Linked DNA regions of Homo sapiens: region 2 is linked to region 1. The links are contacts of gene promoters, found by promoter capture Hi-C in human tissues and cell types (Jung and others, 2019). All regions are on one chromosome and are shown on one strand. The core of a region is centred on a gene start or on the middle of the fragment in contact, and the rest is flanking DNA. Distances in the headings are between cores, read along the strand shown.

What was found. The method cuts DNA at HindIII sites, captures the fragments that hold promoters and counts their contacts. A contact is called where the count stands out against the background at its distance.
Region 2: a fragment that was not itself captured here is called in contact with the fragment with the promoter of ABTB1 in region 1 in 1 of the 25 tissues and cell types used here (spleen).

The regions. Positions count from the first base shown.
Region 1 is chr3:127,670,648-127,674,889 of GRCh38, forward strand. ABTB1 (ankyrin repeat and BTB domain containing 1) reads left to right here and starts at 2,305. Exons shown (of 12, transcript NM_172027.3): 1 at 2,305-2,434; 2 at 3,744-3,806; 3 at 3,898-3,953. The coding sequence starts at 2,379. It overlaps PODXL2 (podocalyxin like 2), which reads left to right. Exons shown (of 8, transcript NM_015720.4): 7 at 787-966; 8 at 1,621-2,155. The coding sequence ends at 1,833. RefSeq lists silencers at 1,587-1,666, 1,677-2,276, 2,417-2,676. The HindIII fragment of the contact is 16,115 bases long and covers 1-4,242 here.
Region 2 is chr3:128,796,062-128,800,476 of GRCh38, forward strand. RAB7A (RAB7A, member RAS oncogene family) reads left to right here. Exons shown (of 6, transcript NM_004637.6): 3 at 1,882-2,008. It also overlaps the pseudogene RPS15AP16. Among named protein-coding and RNA genes, the nearest start is that of MIR12124, 49 kb to the right of the region's middle. The HindIII fragment of the contact is 3,194 bases long and covers 461-3,654 here.

The DNA of each region.
Region 1 (4,242 bases), core at 1,055-3,554:
CCTGAACTCAGAAAGGGGGCCTGGTGCAACCTAGGCCTCAGCACTGGGAACTGCCCTGATCCCTCACCTGAGGAGCCCCTGGTGGTGCTCGCCCTCCTGCTTCTCTCTGCTAAGATGCTGATCTGTGGAGATAGCACCTGCCTGGCCCCTGGCGCCGATCTCCTTGGCCAGAGAAGGCAGGACTGACCATGACAACCTGCAGCGTGGAGGGATGCAGGCAGCTACATGCCAGCAGTGAACACGCCATGGGAAGGGAGGAAGCTGGGCAGCCGGGGTGGCCCCCCATGTGGCCTGCATGCCCTCAGTATCCCTCCCTGCACCGGCCCTGGCATCAGGAAGCTGACTGGTCCACCCCTCCCCACCGAGGTGGAAGCGGTTGTATGGTGGAGGATGTGTGGGGGGCTCACATCTCCTGTCTCTCTAACTAGTTAGGATAGGTGTGGGCACTCTCTCTAGTTGGATGGTGTCCAGCAGCATGGGTCCACTCTCACTGGAGGCCTAGGGCCACAGTGAGCTCAGACTCAGCGGCTGGGGCAGAAGCTATGGTGGGATGTGAAGGAGGCTGGGAACATGGGCATGGGGTGGAGAGGCCTCCAGGTGTACTGAGGCAAACGGGATGGGCATGGGGTAGAGGCAAGCCCAGGCGCCAGGGAACTTCAGGAGCCGGGAGTGCCAGCACCTTCTAAGCCTGCTCCCCCATCCCCACCCGAGCCCAATGCAACCACCCCAGAGGAGCCATGGCACCCCAGGACCTCAGCTGAGGAAACTGGCCCCTCCCACCCCTAGATTGGCATCCAGAACTATTCCACAACCAGCAGCTGCCAGGCGCGGGCCAGCCAGGTGCGCAGCGACTACGGCACGCTCTTCGTGGTGCTGGTGGTCATTGGGGCCATCTGCATCATCATCATTGCGCTTGGCCTGCTCTACAACTGCTGGCAGCGCCGGCTGCCCAAGCTCAAGCACGTGGTGAGTGTGGGGACAGGTGGGGCTGGGGGCCAGTTGAGAGGAGAGTGCCCATCGATAGGTGTCCTCATCTGCAAGGGGAGGCAGTGACTCTCCTGGGCGCACAGGGTCCCGTGGGTGAAGCAGCTGGTCAGCCTAGCACTGCTGACTGCTCTGCAGGGCACCAGCCCCAGGACAGGTGCCAGAGGTGCAGGGAGTGAGGGGGCTGCTAGCCCCACCAGGGGGCCCCTCCCTGGCACCACCAGCCCCTTTCCGGCGCAGGCACTGCAGGGCCTGAGCACCTGAATACCTCACCAGAGGCAGGCCCTGCGTTGGTGGTGCCCAAGGATCAAGGAGAGGCTCCAGCAGCCTAGAGGCCTCCCCAGGAGGAAGCGAGCAGAGCCCTAGCGATGCTCCCTGCCCACCTCGCAAGTGGAGTCTTCTTAGGGGGCTGTTGGGGGATCGATGACGTCAGGGAGGCCACGGGGCTTTGTAGTGCCAACGACTAGTAGGTTTATTTTGAGAAAGGAGTTGAGCTGCAGCAACAGAAAAGAAGGATCTGGCACCTGTGGAGGGTGCCGCGGGAACCCCCTGGGTGGGGTTGCACAGACGGCCGCGGGCCTGGCGCTGTCCGGGGGCTGGCTCGCTCGCCCATGGCCTCTCCCCACCCCGCCTCAGTCGCACGGCGAGGAGCTGCGCTTCGTGGAGAACGGCTGCCACGACAACCCCACGCTGGACGTGGCCAGCGACAGCCAGTCGGAGATGCAGGAGAAGCACCCCAGCCTGAACGGCGGCGGGGCCCTCAACGGCCCGGGGAGCTGGGGGGCGCTCATGGGGGGCAAGCGGGACCCCGAGGACTCGGACGTGTTCGAGGAGGACACGCACCTGTGAGCGCAGCCGAGGCGCAGGCCGAGTGGGCCGCCAGGACCAAGCGAGGTGGACCCCGAAACGGACGGCCCGGAGCCCGCACCAGCCCCGCGCCTACCCGGGCCGCCCCCGCGGCCTGGCCCTCGGCGCGGGCTCCTTCCCGCTTCCCCCGACTTCACACGGCGGCTTCGGACCAACTCCCTCACTCCCGCCCGAGGGGCAGGCCTCAAAGCCCGCCTTGGCCCCGCTTTCCCGCCCCTGAACCCCGGCCCCGCGGGCGGCGGGCGGCGCTTCCTGCGCCCCGGGACTCAATTAAACCCGCCCGGAGACCACGCCGGGCCCAGCGCGTCTGCCTTCTTGACTCATTCTTATTTCCGGGGTTGGGGCGGGGCGGGGCGGGCGGGGCACCCCGGGGCAGGGGCGGGGCCGCGGGGCGGGGAGGCCGGGGCGGGCGGGTCCTCCGGACGCCGCTGCAGAGCGGGGCGGGGCGGGGCTGAGCGTGTTTACATCCGCCGGGTGCGCGGCTTCGCCGCCCGAGGTCGTTCGGCTCGGGTACCATCCTCCGCGCCATGGACACCAGCGACCTGTTCGCCAGCTGCAGGAAGGGGGATGTGGGCCGAGTGCGGTGAGGACCTCGCAGTCCCGGGGAGGGTGCGGGAGGTGGCCGCCCTCGGAACGCCTCGGGCCCTGGGACGGGCGGCTGGGCGGCCGCGGAGAGGCGGGCGCCTCTGCCGGGTCACAGCCCTCGGAGCGCCCCCGCGGGGCAGACCACCCGGACCCCCGCCGCAGCCCCCCAGCGGAAGCGCGCTGGGGCGGGGACACTGATGGCCATTGACCCCCGGAGGGCTTCCTGTAAGAAGGGACTGCTCAGCGGAGGCCCGAAGGCGCAGAAGTGGGCGGAGAGAAGGCGGGCCACTGTTCGCCCTGGTAGGGCCCGGACGTCAGACCCCCCGGGCGCAGGGCGCGGGTATAGGCCTGGGACTCCAGACGTGGCCCCTTTCTCTCGTGCTCTCTGGACCTGGCGCGGGGAACACCTAGAGCCCATAATCGGCCTCCGGTCCCTGAGGATTCGGAAACTCCTGACGCAGCTAAAGTGAATCTGGCGCTGAGATGCCCCCTCCATGGGCCGGACGCGGAGGGAAGGGGTGCCCAGTTGGGTTCTGGGGCCCTTCCCCTCCTTGGGCTTCCACTATCCCGTTTGACCTCCTTTTTTCTTGGCCCTTCCTCCCCCTTGACCTGGTGCTGACTGACTGCTTCCACCTCCCCTGGGCTGGCGCCGGGCTGCTGTACTCCCGTAGCCTCCCTGGGCCGCTCCCTGACATCCCGTGCCACTCAAGAGTTAGTGCATAGTGTCAACGCTGAGTGGGTTCACAGCACTTCCAGGTGCAGCCTGGAGGCCTCCTTTGGGCTGCCCCCGCCTCAGTGGGGCTGCATTAGCATTGGCGACTCCCCTCGCTCACCTTCCGCATCCCATCAGTTGCTGTATCCCGCGACTCCTGCCTCCTAGAATTGTGTGCCCTCCACACCATCAGGAGGCCTGCAGCAGCTTTTTCCCGGGCTCCCTGCTTCTAACAGGGCCAGCTTCTTCCTGCAGTAGAGAGCTCTGGTGGGAGTGAAGGCTCCATCACCTCCTCTCCCAAACGCTGAAAGGCCAAAGGTCCAGCCTCGGCACTGGCTCTGGCTTCTGTCCCTGTAGCCCATCGTCCCCCAGCACTGATAGCACACAGTGTCTGCCTGTTCGACCCCACCTCCACATCCTTGCCTGCACTTTGCCTTGAGTGCCTCTCCTGCTCTGGTCTGCCTGTCACCTGCCCTCACCTGGGGGAGGCTTCCCCATACCAAAAGGGATGTTTTCTCTCCGTTCCTTTCCACGGGCCTTCTTTCTCAGACCATGAACCCGTCCTGACCCAGGCTCTGACCTCCTTCCTGCCCAGGTACCTGCTGGAGCAGCGAGACGTGGAGGTGAATGTGCGGGACAAGTGGGACAGCACCCCCTTGTGAGTGCTGGAGAGAGGGGTGGGGAGGGTGGGGGTTGGTGCACCCCTTCAGCACTGAGGACTGCCTCCTGTACTTCCTTCCTCCCTTCAGGTACTATGCCTGCTTGTGTGGGCACGAGGAGCTGGTACTCTACCTTCTGGCCAATGGTGAGAGCAGGGAGCCCGGCTCACGGGTGTGCGTGGGTGCATGCATGTGTGCGTGTGGGTGCATGCATGCGTGCGTGCATTCAAAGGCCTTGATACACATTTGCAAAGCACCACGATTCCTCTCTTACCACCCAGTCGAATCAGCAAGTACTATTATTGCTACTTTAAAACCTTTTCTCTGTCCACCTTGCCCATCTCTACTTCTACGACCTGGGCCCAGTCATCAGCATTTCTCCCCGGACACGGTGCCTGCCTCTCTCTTGCCATTGCAGCCAAGTTGATCTTTTCA
Region 2 (4,415 bases), core at 808-3,307, 1.1 Mb after region 1:
TCTTAGTGCACCATACAGTATCCTCCTGCTGCTGTGCCTGCTTCAGATCTATCTGCAAAAGAGCCTGGGACGGCAGAACTGGGTTCTGATTCTAGATGTGCCACTAACCATGTAGCTAACTCTAATGGCTCTTAAGATTCTGTGGTAGGTTGGGTGAGGTGGCTTATGCCCATAATCCCAGTGCTTTGGAGGCTGAGGGGAGGATTGCTTGAGCCCAGGAGTTGGAGACCTGTCTCTACAAAAAAAATTTAGCCAGGTGCCGTACCTGTAGTTCCAGCTGCTGGGGAGGCCGAGGCGAGAGGATGGCTTGAGCCCAGGAGTTTGAGGCTGTAGCAAGCTATGATCATGCCGTTGCACTGCAGCCCGAGTGACAGAGCAAGACCCCAACTCTTAAAATAAAAAGATTCTGTGGTAGGCTTTTCAGACTTGGCATCTGAAGGGACCCATGAAAGCTTTGACTCATTGGAAGCTTATGTATTTTTAAAAATAACAACAATAGCAAATGCAGGTATGCTTCTTTATTCCAAAGTCCCCTGCCCTTCCTTTGAAAAGCCAGAGGTTTTTCTGTCTTGACTGGCTTATTTGAATCACCTGCAGAACCTTTTTTTGTATGTGTGTGAGAGACAGGGTCTCGCTCTGTTGCCCAGACTAAAGTGAATGGTGCAATCACAGCTCACTGCAGCCTCAACCTCCTGGTCTTAAGCCATCCTCCCACCTCAGCCTCCAGAGTAGCTGGGACCACCAGTGTGTGCTACCACTCCTGGTTAAATTTTTGTATTTTTTATAGAGACAGGGTTCTACCATGTTGCCCAGGCTGGTCTCAAACTCCTGGGCTCAAGCAGTCCACTCGTCTCGACCTCCCAAAGTGCTGAGATTACAGGCTTGAGCCACCATGCCCAGCCTTTGAAGAACCTTTTGTTCGCTAGCATTTGCCCAGCCCCAGACCAGTGGGCTAGGGCCTAGATTTGTGCTCTCTCTCCTACCCCGCAACTCCATCCCCGTCGGGATGGAAAGATAGTGCTTTTAGGCCTGCCTTCCCCAAACTTGTGCAAAAAGTCTCACCAAGCCCTTGTTCGATTCCAGGTTTTGCCACCTCTCACCTTGTAGATTCTGGCTTAGATGGTCTGGGTTGGAAAACACTGCCTTCGGCTGTCTAGGTACCTCCAGGTTCTTTAACACAAATATGAACATGTTCCTTTGTGGCCAAGAAAGGTGATATCACTGGCTATGGGGGGGAAGGTTTTTGTATTAGCTTTAGGTTACCTTAACCTTATCACACAAAAATCACACATTGTCTCTTGCTGAGTTTTCTTACTAGAAAACATATTTGGAGGAGCATTCTTTGAGGTGGATTTGTTTTGGTGATATATTGGTGCTTTTTCTGCTTCAGATTTTAAACTTTAAAGCAGCAAATTGTCTGAGTGGTGTGTGTCTGCTGAAAGCCAAGGTCTTCCTCCTGGTGTTACTTCATCAAGCTAAATAGCAGCCACTAAATGGAGAAACATCTAAGATAGCAGGGATACTGTTGGAATAGCAGAACAGTCTTAATAGTGAAGCTTCTTTTAGAAAGCAGTATATTTGCTGGCATCCTTCTAGAATGGAAAAAATAATACTAGGCTCTACCATTTGACCTGGCTGTGCCAAAACATGTAAGCAGCTTTTCCACATCTGCCCCACATCTGTACCCTATATTTTTACCCAGAGAGAAAACACAAAACTTCAAAAGTGTAATGCTCGGAAGGCTACTGGCATTGCCCTTTGCTGTGAGGGCAGTTTCTTGTCCTTCAGGTCAGGCAGATTCTTTTAAATGCTTCAAGTAATTCGTGTCAGTTTCAGGACCCTCCTATTTGACTTATACTTATGGTTTTTCTCCAATTTCAGAGTCGGGAAGACATCACTCATGAACCAGTATGTGAATAAGAAATTCAGCAATCAGTACAAAGCCACAATAGGAGCTGACTTTCTGACCAAGGAGGTGATGGTGGATGACAGGCTAGTCACAATGCAGGTAAGCACATGTCTTGGCTGTGCTGACCAGGCCTTGATAGTTCATTTAGTCTTAATCTTTCCTCATGCATAGACATTTTCCTTCCCTGTTCTTCAAATCTTATTATCTTATTTGTAGATAATTGGCTGATACTCAGTTAAATTTGAATTTCAGATCAATAGTGAATACTTTTTTAGTATACTTCTAGTGTATCTCAGATACGACTTGCTAAGACACACTAAAAAATTCTTCTTAAAAAAAAACTCAGATTTATCCTTTCTTGTTTTTTGTTGTTTTTGGTTTTGTTGTTTGCTAAATTTGGCAACCTGCAGGTCTCTGTCTTGTGCCTCTCTTGACATCCTTGCCCAGTGCTTTAGGTAAACATCTTTGTCTCACCTCAGTAGTGAGACATAAACTTTATTTTTCTGACTTCCTATTTCATACGTAACTTCAAGAGTTGTGTGTCTATTGAGCCAATCTTTTTTTTATGTATCAGCTTATTAATCTTTCAAGGGTTCCCTTTCAACAGTTAGGATAAGATACAGATTCTTTCATATGACTTGTTGAAAAGCCTTCACATTCTGGCTATAAACTATTATTCCCTTTTTTTCCCCCATTGAGTCATTTTGTTTGTATACATGTATTAACATCCCTAGAAAAGAAACCCCTGAAGGATGGATACCTTGAGCCCAGGAGTTTGAGCCTGCAGTGAGCTGTGACTGCTCCATTATACTCCAGCCTGGGTGATGGAGTGAGACCCTGTCTCTAAATTTAAAAAAAAAAAAAAAAAAAAAAAAGAATCCCAGGATTTTCCCTCCTGTATTTTCATCTCTTTCTTCATGGTCCATGATGCCAGCTGAGGTTGTCAGTACAACCTCACTTTGAAACCAAACTATTGGGATAGGAGTAGATTATCCTGTCATTTTTCTAGATCTTTGAGTTGCACATCACATCTGGGGCCAATCATTCCAGGGGCAGTTTTAACCTGCCTGTGAGGTTTACAGTAATTTTCCCAGCTCTGTGATGACCAGTGATTTCAAATTTTCAATGTGATCATGTTTCATCTTCACACTTAGAACCAGACCATGACTTGGGAGCACAGCCTAATAAGAACCTGGTGTTTGCCCTTGAGAGCATCAGCCAAGACGTTCATGCATTACGGAGGCAAGAAAAGATGGTGGAAATAGCTGTTACTCACTTTTTTTTTTTTTGTCTCGTTCCAGTCATTCCGAATCATGTGCTGCTCTTACAGACTTGTGTTGGTGGATATGTCTCTGCTTCCAGCAGGGCCTGTATACCCACCTGAAGTCTCCAACTTTTAGCTCAGATCTTTGGAAACTTCTATCTCCATGGCAGTTGTTCTTTCCTATGTGCTTCTAGAGGCAAATACAATTCTAATCCCATTATAGTCCTAGAAAGTACCTGGCAAATAGTGGGGGCTTGCTGAAATGTGTGAATGATGTAGGTTAAAGGTAGAAATTTGTGCACGTGTTGACCTCGAGCCATGGCATGCTCCTAGAGGATCAGGACTCTTAATTGACTCACACTTCTAGGACAGAGCTGGTATGAATCTCTCATCCTCACCTCACCTACACACATACACCTAGAGATCTTCAAAATGTAACTACAGTTTAAGCAAGTCAAGCTTGAGAGTAGAACTGGAAAACCTTGGCCCAAGAAATTGGCAAAGCTTGTGTCTGCAGTTGTTGGAGATTCTCAGTCCCACTCTCCACATGTACAGAAATCTTTGTCTCAAAGGATTTAACATAAATCCCTGTCATTCCTGGCAAAAACAAGGGTAAGACCACTCTGTAGGGACATTTAGTACCGCAGGAGAGAAGATGAGTTCATAACCACATGAGGAAATAATGTACCACAAGAGATGTTCACAATGACTAGAGATGTTCTAAAAAGAAATAGAAACCATAATGGAAAGGGATACTATAAAAAAATGAGGATATGGAAAACTTAGAACTTCAAGAAGTGAAAACATAGTATTGAAATAAGCTAAAGGAACAGTTAAACTGTAGATTAAATGGAGCTGAAAAAAGCAGTAAGCCGTAAGAGCTGAGCAAATTTTCTAAAAGAAGACTTAAAATTGTAGAAGACCGAAAAGCAAAATCTTAAGAGCAACTATAGAAAAAAAAGACATGACTTATAAAGGAACAACAGACTGACAAATTCTCAACAGAAGGCAGAAGGGAGTAGAATTACTTCAGGGAGCTGGGGTAAAGGCCCATCTGAAGATTCTCCATGTGTCACAGCAAGACTCAGACTGCCTTTTGCTGAGGGAAAATAGAACTTCTCCAGCTGAGCTGTGGTTTTGGTAGCCATGTGGGCCAGCGAATTCAGAAATCAGAGTTCGGCCCCTGCTGGGTCGGGGGTTGTCATAACAGTCCCGTCTGTACTACTAAGCTGGGACCTTGGG